Regions from separate parts of the Homo sapiens genome. Here regions 2 and 3 are each linked to region 1. The links are contacts of gene promoters, found by promoter capture Hi-C in blood cells and fetal thymus (Javierre and others, 2016). All regions are on one chromosome and are shown on one strand. Each heading gives the region's core, a stretch centred on a gene start or on the middle of the fragment in contact. The rest is flanking DNA. Distances are from core to core; before and after follow the strand shown.

The links. The method cuts DNA at HindIII sites, captures the fragments that hold promoters and counts their contacts. A CHiCAGO score of 5 or more calls a contact.
Region 2: a contact is called between a fragment that was not itself captured here and the fragment with the promoter of BCKDHB in region 1, in 1 of 17 cell types (fetal thymus). The highest score is 6.9, in fetal thymus.
Region 3: a contact is called between a fragment that was not itself captured here and the fragment with the promoter of BCKDHB in region 1, in 1 of 17 cell types (fetal thymus). The highest score is 7.3, in fetal thymus.

What each region holds. Positions count from the first base shown.
Region 1 is chr6:80,105,003-80,108,251 of GRCh38, reverse strand. BCKDHB (branched chain keto acid dehydrogenase E1 subunit beta) reads right to left here and starts at 1,581. Exons shown (of 10, transcript NM_183050.4): 1 at 1,363-1,581. The coding sequence starts at 1,558. RefSeq lists enhancers at 1,239-1,318, 1,285-1,785 and silencers at 1,369-1,468, 1,499-1,698. The HindIII fragment of the contact is 20,612 bases long and covers 1-2,064 here.
Region 2 is chr6:79,916,858-79,920,106 of GRCh38, reverse strand. ELOVL4 (ELOVL fatty acid elongase 4) reads left to right here. Exons shown (of 6, transcript NM_022726.4): 5 at 560-687; 6 at 3,224-3,249. Among named protein-coding and RNA genes, the nearest start is that of ELOVL4, 29 kb to the left of the region's middle. The HindIII fragment of the contact is 186 bases long and covers 1,426-1,611 here.
Region 3 is chr6:79,937,602-79,940,850 of GRCh38, reverse strand. All of the region lies in intron 1 of ELOVL4 (ELOVL fatty acid elongase 4), which reads left to right. Among named protein-coding and RNA genes, the nearest start is that of ELOVL4, 8.3 kb to the left of the region's middle. The HindIII fragment of the contact is 1,847 bases long and covers 703-2,549 here.

The DNA of each region.
Region 1 (3,249 bases), core at 332-2,831:
GTAAATTATATCTACACGCATCTTAGTACATTGTTTAGAATGGAAGCTCTGGAATCTGATCAATTAGATTCCAAAGCTGGAGCTTTGGAGCTACCACTAACTTACCTGTGTAATCTTGGTCAAACTGTCTCAAGACTCCATTAACCTAACTGCAAAATGGGAATAAAAACTTTACTAACCTTTTAAGGTTGTCCTAACCCTTAAATGAGATGATGAAACATACACACAGCACCTGACCCTGGTAAGCACTCAATAACTGTTCATTCTTATCCACAAGACACACTTCCAAAAATGTCAGCTCTAGCATGCACATGAGAAGTTATTAGACAAGGAAGCAATACATGTTTCCCTACAGTTTCCTGATATTCTGAAGAGAGACACTGGATCTGATATTCTGATGAGAGACATTACATGAAACTTGCAGAAATGGTAAAAATCATGCAACAGTCATACTATGAGGAGTTTGCTACATGCCCTTCCTATGGCTTCCTCCTCTCATCCCCTTCACCTCCTTGGCTAAGTGGCAGCATAGCCCAGGACAAGCTCAGTACTAAGCTCAAGTAGAAAGTCTGAATTCTTTCACATCTCTAGGAAGGACCTGTTCTGTGACCTTGGGAAAATCAGTTCAATTACTCAGAATTCTGTAGGTAAGAAGAAACCAAGGGACATATATACATATATGCATATATATATGCATATATATGTGTGCATATATATATATGCATATATATATATATGCGCACATATATATGCATATATATGCGCGTATATATATCCACACATATATATATGTGTGTGGATATATACACACACACACACACACACACATACACACAATTTCTGTATGTAAGAAGAAACCAAGGGACTGAGTAACTGAATTGATTTTATATACATATATATATTTTATATATAATATATATAATATACATTTAAAATATATATATATAAACATATATATATATCTTTTAAATGCCTCTACCTAAGCTAGTGGCCCAGTCCTGGCCAGGCTGGAACAACACCTAAGGCCTGGGTTGAGAAAGCAAGGACGGAGGACAGAGAAAAGGGAGGCGTTCCCTGGGCACCACCCCTCCACCCTCAGGCTCTTCCAGGTGGCAGTATGCCCTCTCACCCATCTCAAAGTTGCGGGGGAGGGGGGACTGCGTCTCGAGGGCTGAACAGTCACAAAAATAGAGCAAGAAGTGAACCACAGTTAGACCCTGAGGCAAGGAGGTTCCAGAGAGTCAGGAAGTTAATAAGCTGGGATGCAAGGATTGCAGCCTGCCGGCCCCTGCCCCTCGCGGGCGCCTGCGAGCCTGGGAGTCCGGGCTGCAGCGGGACCGAGTGGGCAGTCCCAGGGCTCACCGTACTCCCGGGGCTCCGGATCTGGCTGGAAAGTAAAATGAGCCACCTGCCGCCTCTGGGCCGCATCCTCGACAGTCGCGGCGGGGTGCAAAAAGCCCCGCGCCAGCCCCGCGCCAGGAAGCCGACGCCAGTGCCCCTCAGCCCCTGCCGCCCTGAGCCTGAGTAGCCAGCCGGCAGCCGCCGCTACAACCGCCATCCCCGCTCACCACCGGGATTCTCAGGCTATGCAGCCGCACGCCGCCTGCGGGGAGGGCGGAGCACCCGAGGAGGCTTCCACATTGGTCGGGCCAGAGGGGCGGTCCCATGAAACAGACCAATCGGAACTGGAAATTTAGGGGCGGGGAAGGCGACGTGACGAGCTGGTCGGCTTCTGCTCCTTGTGCGCATGCGGAAGAGGGGAAGTGTGGGCTAGAGGTGGCGCCAATGAAATAGTTTCTGGGGTGGAGCCTCCCCGAGGTCGGCCGTGCGGTCCTCGGGTGAGGACCCGAGTTTGCAAAGTTCCACACAGTGCCTGGAGGCGATCTTTTCCGGTGTCATTTACAGTGCCATTTCCAATGGTTTAACATCCATACTTTTTTTTAAATGTAACCCTTTTTTATCCTGTCCTGTCTCTATTATTGTGTGAGAGGTGAAGAGAGCTACTGATTGGCATTGGTTATTGTTTTGACTTTCGAAAAACTGCTGTAGTCACTGCTCAAAGCTTTCACTCCTTATTCACACCCTCCTTAAAATGCTTAATAAGCATATATAGATTTTTATTGATTTCGTTTTTCCACATTTAAATGAGAGATGAAAGAGGTAAACTTAGATTTCATCCTGCAAATCCACTGAATAGGAATTCAGATACATTTTGCCCAGAAGTAGCAAAAATTACCTGATTGGCTTAGTCTAAGTAGCTTAGAAACCTGGAGAATTTGAGTCACTAATTTTCATTTATAGTAATCAACTATGTAAATTTGTTTTAATCTAAGTGTTTACCAGGATACATTCTCTGTCCATGAATTTACTAAAAAAAAAAAAAAGCACATAAAACATGAAATATCATAAAATCAAATATGACAAGAGACAACAGAGACAGTGTGTCCATCAGATGAAAATGGGAGGGTGGGGAAGGATGGTCCCAAAACAGAATTTGAAGAAGAAAGTGGGAGTGGAGGAAAAGAACATTCCTCTTCCATTATGCCTTGCCTCTTAACCCATCTTTGGTTTTGCACAGGGGCAAGGGAGGAGAGGGTAGAAATGGGGCAAAAGGAGAGGCAGAGAAATGTGTTTTCTGACTGAGATTAAGAAACAGCAATTGAAAACTGCCAAAGGGAGAACCAGAATTATGTCTCCATTTTTCCTACCCCCACACTAAGTCCAAAAATTCAACATTGGGGAAATTTTTTATCTTGGCTTTTGTTAGTGTTCATTTCTGCTGTTTTAATAGTGTGGGGTAGAGTGTTTTGCATGTGCATGAAGGGTATTTTTGTTTTAATGAAGGAAGGGGTAACAAAATGAAATTACATTTACATAGTCAAATTTGGGTTTAAACTAAGGAGAGTAAAGAACAAGGATAAAAATGAATAGAGCTTTTTTTCTATTTGTTGATAGTTTAGGGAGCTGGGGGTACTGAGATTATTTAGGTCGGGGAGAAAAAGAGAAAAATAATAACTGATGAGAATTTTATTGAACCTCTGCTACGTACAACCCAATGACAAGCCACCATTGAGACAAATAAGATCAAGGCATAGTTTTACTTCTAAAATGTCCAAGGTGGTAGAGAAAAGAGACAGATTAGGCAACTACAATCCAATGTGATAGGAGTCCTAGAATAGTGCAAACAAAGTGAAACACAAAAAGAGCAATAAACTCTTATTTGAAAGTCAAGTGTTTCCAGATATAACT
Region 2 (3,249 bases), core at 269-2,768, 190 kb after region 1:
TTATGACAAAAATTAATTATTATTACATCTATACCTTGATTAAATTAATATTCTGAAAAGAAAGAATGTCATTGAGTTTGACTGACTGGAATATCTCTGTAGATTTATCTATATTAAATGAATTATTCAATGTGTGTAGTGCTGTCATATTTTAAACTATTTAGAAACCTAAGAAATAAGTACTGTTTTGTTGCAGATATATATATTGGCACATCTAAAGGCAAGAATAGTAGAATTAAAAGTAACATAGGCAACAGTTCTAAGGGCCTATTTAAGCTCACTGGAGTACTCCATTTGAAAACCTACAACTGTGAAAGTCCTTTGCATTTGAACATACATTTTTATTTATATGGTAAAACCTCAAATCTAAACTTTAAAAATATCTAGCTTAATCTGAAGGGAAAACTTTTTCATTAGTACTACTTTATATTTTTCATTTCTAATCTGTACTCAAGATTAAATATTAAAAAATAATGTGTATTCATTTATTGTACATCTCAGTGGCTTACTGCCTAATAAAATTTTCTGTATCTTGTAATTACCTGTTGTTTTTCTAAAGCATTTTTTGGAGCCCAGTTGAATTCCTTTATCCATGTGATTATGTACTCATACTATGGGTTAACTGCATTTGGCCCATGGATTCAGAAATATCTTTGGTGGAAACGATACCTGACTATGTTGCAACTGGTGAGTTAAATGCTTCCAAAGTTTCTTCTGGTAAAATACTGAAATTGTTTAAATTTGATTAATTTTAAAGTGCAATGTCATTTTAGACAATTTTCTATTATGAAATTAACTTTATCCTCCAGCTATATCGCAGTTATGCCCACTTGACTCTAGATGACCTATTCATAGACTTATTGGTCCCAGCAAATCTTTGTTTTTATAATATGCTTAAAAGACTAGACATAGCCCTTACTCCTCTAAGGAAAACATTCTCTAAAGATGTTTGTGGAAAGGATGATTAAAGATCTAAGCACGCTACAAAGTACGTAGTATGAATAGAAAAATAATATGTATTTTTTCCCTACAGGTGATTTTCTTAACTTAAAATTTTATTACCTTTCTTCATCTTGTCCTTGCTTAAAAATTTTGTTTTTTATTTCATTTTTCAGTCTTTAACATATCTCATATATTTAGACTAAACAGCTGAAAAGAAAGCACATAGCCAAGGAAGGGGTGGGGCAAAGGAAGGGAATAAGGGCAAGAGAACTCCTTGTAATTCTCTAAAACACTGTCCTTAAGAGAGCAGAGACAGATATTTTCAAATGGTGGTCTTTAGTCCAGACAGTTTTCAGCACATCCCGCTAGTAAGACTGTTTGTGGCAATCTGAGTGTGTGCATTAGTGTACCTTTCAGATGCTAGGCACTAGCCTGTAATCAAACTGGAAATTCAAAGCCAACCTGGTAACTATTTTTCAAGCTTTAGAATTTATTATAATTTGCTTTAATCATAGCATGTGCACAATTTTATCAGTGGAATCACATTTGGAAATAATATTCATCTTTGCTTTAAGTTGCTAAACAGCTGGCTAACCAAACAGGAAGCACAACTTTTGGGAAATGCTGGGTGCGAAGGATTCATTTGTAACCGGAGTGGTATAGGAAGCTTCCTCCAGTTTTTGTGTAAAAGCTGTTAACACAGTTTGTGTAATTCATTTCTCTCAGTAAGTAGTAAATGGACCTAAGAAAATGAAGAGGTGATCAAAATCATGTGAATTAGTCCTATCTGGTTTGTTGGAGCCTACACCTGGCTCTCCTTGAGTGATGCCATACCCAATCACACCCTTATACACACCCTTTTTGGTGATGCAGCTTCTAAAAACCATTGTGAAACCACAAGTTCTTCAAATTAAAATATTTGCCAAGGAAAATTATAAAAGTTTAATATAGTATAAATTTTTAGCTTACATGGCATACATTATTTTAATATTTAAAATAAGTAATACTGATTATTTTAATCAATAATTAATATTTTAAGAACAATGCTATCCTTAAAAGAGAAACCACAATTGTCCATTTCAAACAGGATGTTGAGTTTGTATTTCCAAGCCAGAAGTTCCCACAACAGTTAGTCATATAAGTTAATTGTATAAAAAGTTAACCCTTGTTAACATTATGTCTTGACCCATTCTTTTATTGATACATCAGAATCTATTTCATTTTAATCATCTCACTTTGGGCTTTTTTCCTTTTAAAAATTCTTAAAGTTGAAAGTGATTCTTTTTGTATTTATTCTGAAATATCTACTAAATTTTATCCAAATATTATTTTTTTCTTTTTTTGGGACGGAGTTTTGCTCTTGTTGCCCAAGTTGGAGTGCAATGGTGCAGTCTGGGCTCACTGTAACTTCCGCCTCCTGGGTTCAAGCTATTCTTCTGCTTCAGCCTCCTGAGTAGCTGGGATTACAGTCATGGACCACCACACCTGGCTAATTTTTTGTATTTTTAGTAGAAATGGGGTTTTACCATGTTGGCCAGGCTGGTCTTGAACTCCTGACCTCAGTTGATCCACCCGCCTCGGCCTCCCAGAGTGCTGGGATTGCAGGCATGAGCCATCGCACCTGGCCATCAAAATATTAGTTTTTAAAGGATAGTGTTCGTTCAAATAAAAATTTACCTGCCTACTATCTGTAAGAAATAAATGAGCCATTTTGATAAGCTCATTTTAAGTATGTGTATCTGCTTGCTGACAATTTGATAGAAAGAAACCAATGTAAAATGTGGGAGGAAAACAAAATTGAAGAGCCTACAATACTATTACTTTACTCTCCTAGGCCATTGATTCCCTTTCATCAGATAACATTATTCAACACATATTCATTGATCCTGATGCTGTGCTGAGGACTCAAGAATCACCGATGGGCAAGACAAAGCCCTGCCTTCTAGAGTCATTTTCTAGTGGAAAGATAGGCAATAAAGAAATAACAAATACAGAAGACAATTTCAAATAGGTATAATTCTCCTTAAAAAAAATGCAGAAAGCTCTTTGGTTAATGGGATTGGGAGGGCCAATTGAAATTGAAGTCTTGTCAGAGAGTCCTTACTGAGGAGATGGCATTTGAGTTGTGAATGAGGAGCTAGCCATGGGAGCCAGAAAACAATAAATTTTGCACAGTGTGGCAAAATTTGGGCCTGTGATAGCTATGTAGAAGATGCCGATGTTGTTAAAAGTTGTTTACTATTCAGATTAAATGTTTTGTGCTGTCATTTCTGTTTTTCAGATTCAATTCCATGTGACCATTGGGCA
Region 3 (3,249 bases), core at 377-2,876, 170 kb after region 1:
AACTATTTTATCGAAAACAGTAGCAATAATATTAAAGAATAAAATTATCTCAATTATATATTACATTTATTTTGTGATACTCAGCTTTTGAGGATGGCATATTATGTCGTTTTAGGCAAGTTATTCATGACTCTTTGGGTCTCTTATTTCTACCTGTGCTGTGAGAGGGTTGAACTACATAACCTTTAAGGCTTAGTTTATTGAATCCTTATAACATCTCCTAAAACAGCAGCCTAGATATCAGTCTAAACTCAGTCTTCATATTTTTCCAATAGAAAATGTGAAATTTTAACATACATCATTACAAATGATTTTCTATTATAAACACTTTATATATGAGCATTTTTTACTTAAGTTTGGAAGTATGGCTTAAGATTTTTGTAAAATTGATAAAAATGTGTAGGTCTTACAGAAGAGAAAACAAAAGAAACTAAATGGTTTTGGTATAAGTATGTTCCTTAACTAATCAAAATACAAATTTTTAAAATCTTTTGCCATATATTTTTCTTCATGAAATATTACCATTTGTAAACAAATACCTTAGAATGATGTTTTATTTATGATTATATTGTATTAGAGTAAAATTTTTGGAATTTGAAAGACAAATGCATTAGTCCACTGAGGAAATCAGTTACTCACTGTCAGGTATAATCACATAAAAGCATTTGTGATTTTGAACTGCAGAATTCCAAGAAACAAGCTTTTCTGTTTTCATTTTTATTCACTTATCAAACAAAAACTTGAGCACAGATGTGTGTTTTTAACTAATTTTATATATTTTTTCACACACGTACATAGCAGCATTATTCACAGTAGTTAAGAGGTGGAAACGACCCAGATGTCCAGTGTTGGATAAATGGATAAACGCAACGTGGTATATACATACAATGGAATATTATTCAGTCTTAAAAAGGAAAGAAATTCTGACATGTGCTACAACATAGATGAACCTTGTTACTAAGTGAAATAGTCTAGTCACAAAAAGATAATTATGTATGTGGCATTATGGTTCCACTTATATGGACCCTCTACTGTAGTCAAATTCGGGCTGGGCCCAGTGGCTCATGCCTATAATGCTAGCACTTTGGGAGGTGGAGGCTCAAGGATCACTTGAGCCCAGGAGTTCAAGACCAACATGAGCAACAAAAAAATATTAAAAATTAGCCAGGCCTGGTGCCATATGCCTCTAGTCTCAGCTATTGAGAAGGCTGAGGGAGAAGGATCACTTGAACCTGGGAGGTGAAGGCTTCAGTGAACCATAATTGTGCCACTGCACTCCAGCCTGGGTGACAGAGTAAGATCCTGGCCCAATAAATAAATAAATAAATAAATAAATAAATAAATAAAGTAGTCAAATTAATAGAAACAGAAAGTAGAAAGATGTTTGCTAGGGCCTGGGGAGAAGGAGAACTGATGACTTGTTTAATAGGTATAGAGTTTCAGTTTTTCAAGATAGAAAAGTTCCAGAGAGTCACAACAATGTGGATATGCTTAATGATACTGGACTGTACACTTAAAAATGATTAAGATGGTATATTTTATGTTATGTGCTTTTCTTTTTACCGCAATGCAAGAATTTCATATATTATAAAATTAATACATTAGCACCTGTAGAAATGATCTCTTTAGTGCTCAATGGTAAAACAGTCAATTCTTCTTTATTTTTTCAATTTAAAGTAAAATGACTTTATAAAGAGACTATATAGCTGTTGGCTTAAAAAAAATCCGAGTGGCTAGAAAGTAGCAAATAACAAGAAAGAAAACTTTAGCTTTGTATTTTGCTTTATGGTTTTACAAACAACTTCACAATAACTCTGGGAGATAGGCCTTGAAGGCATTTTTTCCATATATTTAGAAGTCTTTGAGATTTACAGAAGTTACGTAACTTTTGTAGGTGGTCACTATAGTGCAAATGAATGTGCATGGGTTGTTTTGTCCCTAGCCCAGTGCTCTTGTCTTCCCGTCACACTAGCCAAGCAAGAAAGAAATAATCAGGCCTGTAATCTGTGTTTCTCTTTTATTTTACCTTTTCTTTTATTGTTATCTACAGAGTATCACTGTTTAGAATACTAAATCTGAACAAAGTCATAATATTACCAAAGATCATCTAAAGAAAGACATCTAAATATTCAAAGGTGCTATAAAGGCTGGTGTATGAGATTAAACTACAAAGTGATATTTATTCATATACTATATACATACACAAATATGTGAATATATGTAGAATACAAAATGCGATATTTAGCCTGAGAAGATGGTTAACTTCCATATGACGGTGTAGGATTGTTTAAAAAAAGTGTATTCAAAGTGAATTATGAAAGTATTTGCCAAATTGCATAATACAAGAGCTAGAAACTTGTTAGTGAAAGGATAATGAAATTCATTCAGGACTAACCGTATTTTACCCAGTGGCTATTCAACTTATAGAACTGTTAGAGTCAAGGGAAGATTTTGGCTAAAGTTCCCATTAACTCACACACTCACACACTCTAATGGTATCTTCCATCTTTTTTGCTAAAGGGAAACACCATTTCAATTTTCTTAAAGCTTTGAGTTCATTGGCAGCATTGGGTGGATGGTTGAACTTGGAACTCCCAGATTAAGTTTTATGACTACTTTTTCTGAGAAGCCCAGCAAAATTGGAAACAAGGAGAGAAGGAAACTACTTGTATTCTGATCTTGGCTTCCAGGAAACGAGGCAACATTCTTCAGCTCTCTCTCTCGAGATATATTTTCTCCCTTGAAATTGTCTCCTTTTCCCTTATGAACTGGCTTTTATGAATAGGCCATTTTCTGAAGTCATGAATTTGGACATCACCTGCACTTGGGCATGGTGGCTCACGCCTGTAATCCCAGCACTTTGGGAGGCCGAGGCGGGTGGATCATTGAGGTCAGGAATTTGAAACCAGATATCGTCTGCACATGATGAAACTCACTACCATTTATTGAGCATTTAGTATAGGACCATTTTAAGATGCTGTAGTACTGTATTTGATACACCTTATATTTAATTTTCAGATCATCTCTATAAGTTAGATATTATTTAACCATCTATAGATGAAGAAATAGACTCAAAGCTACATAGCTAGAAAGTAACAGAGTTGGAATAGGATCAAGATCTTTCTCCTTCCCAACAGTGACCTTTTTATAATGCAACATAGCCTACTTATTTATTCAATAAATACCATTTTATTGCCCAGTAATAATAGTGAACATTTATTGGATGCTTACTAAGTGTCAGGCACTGTG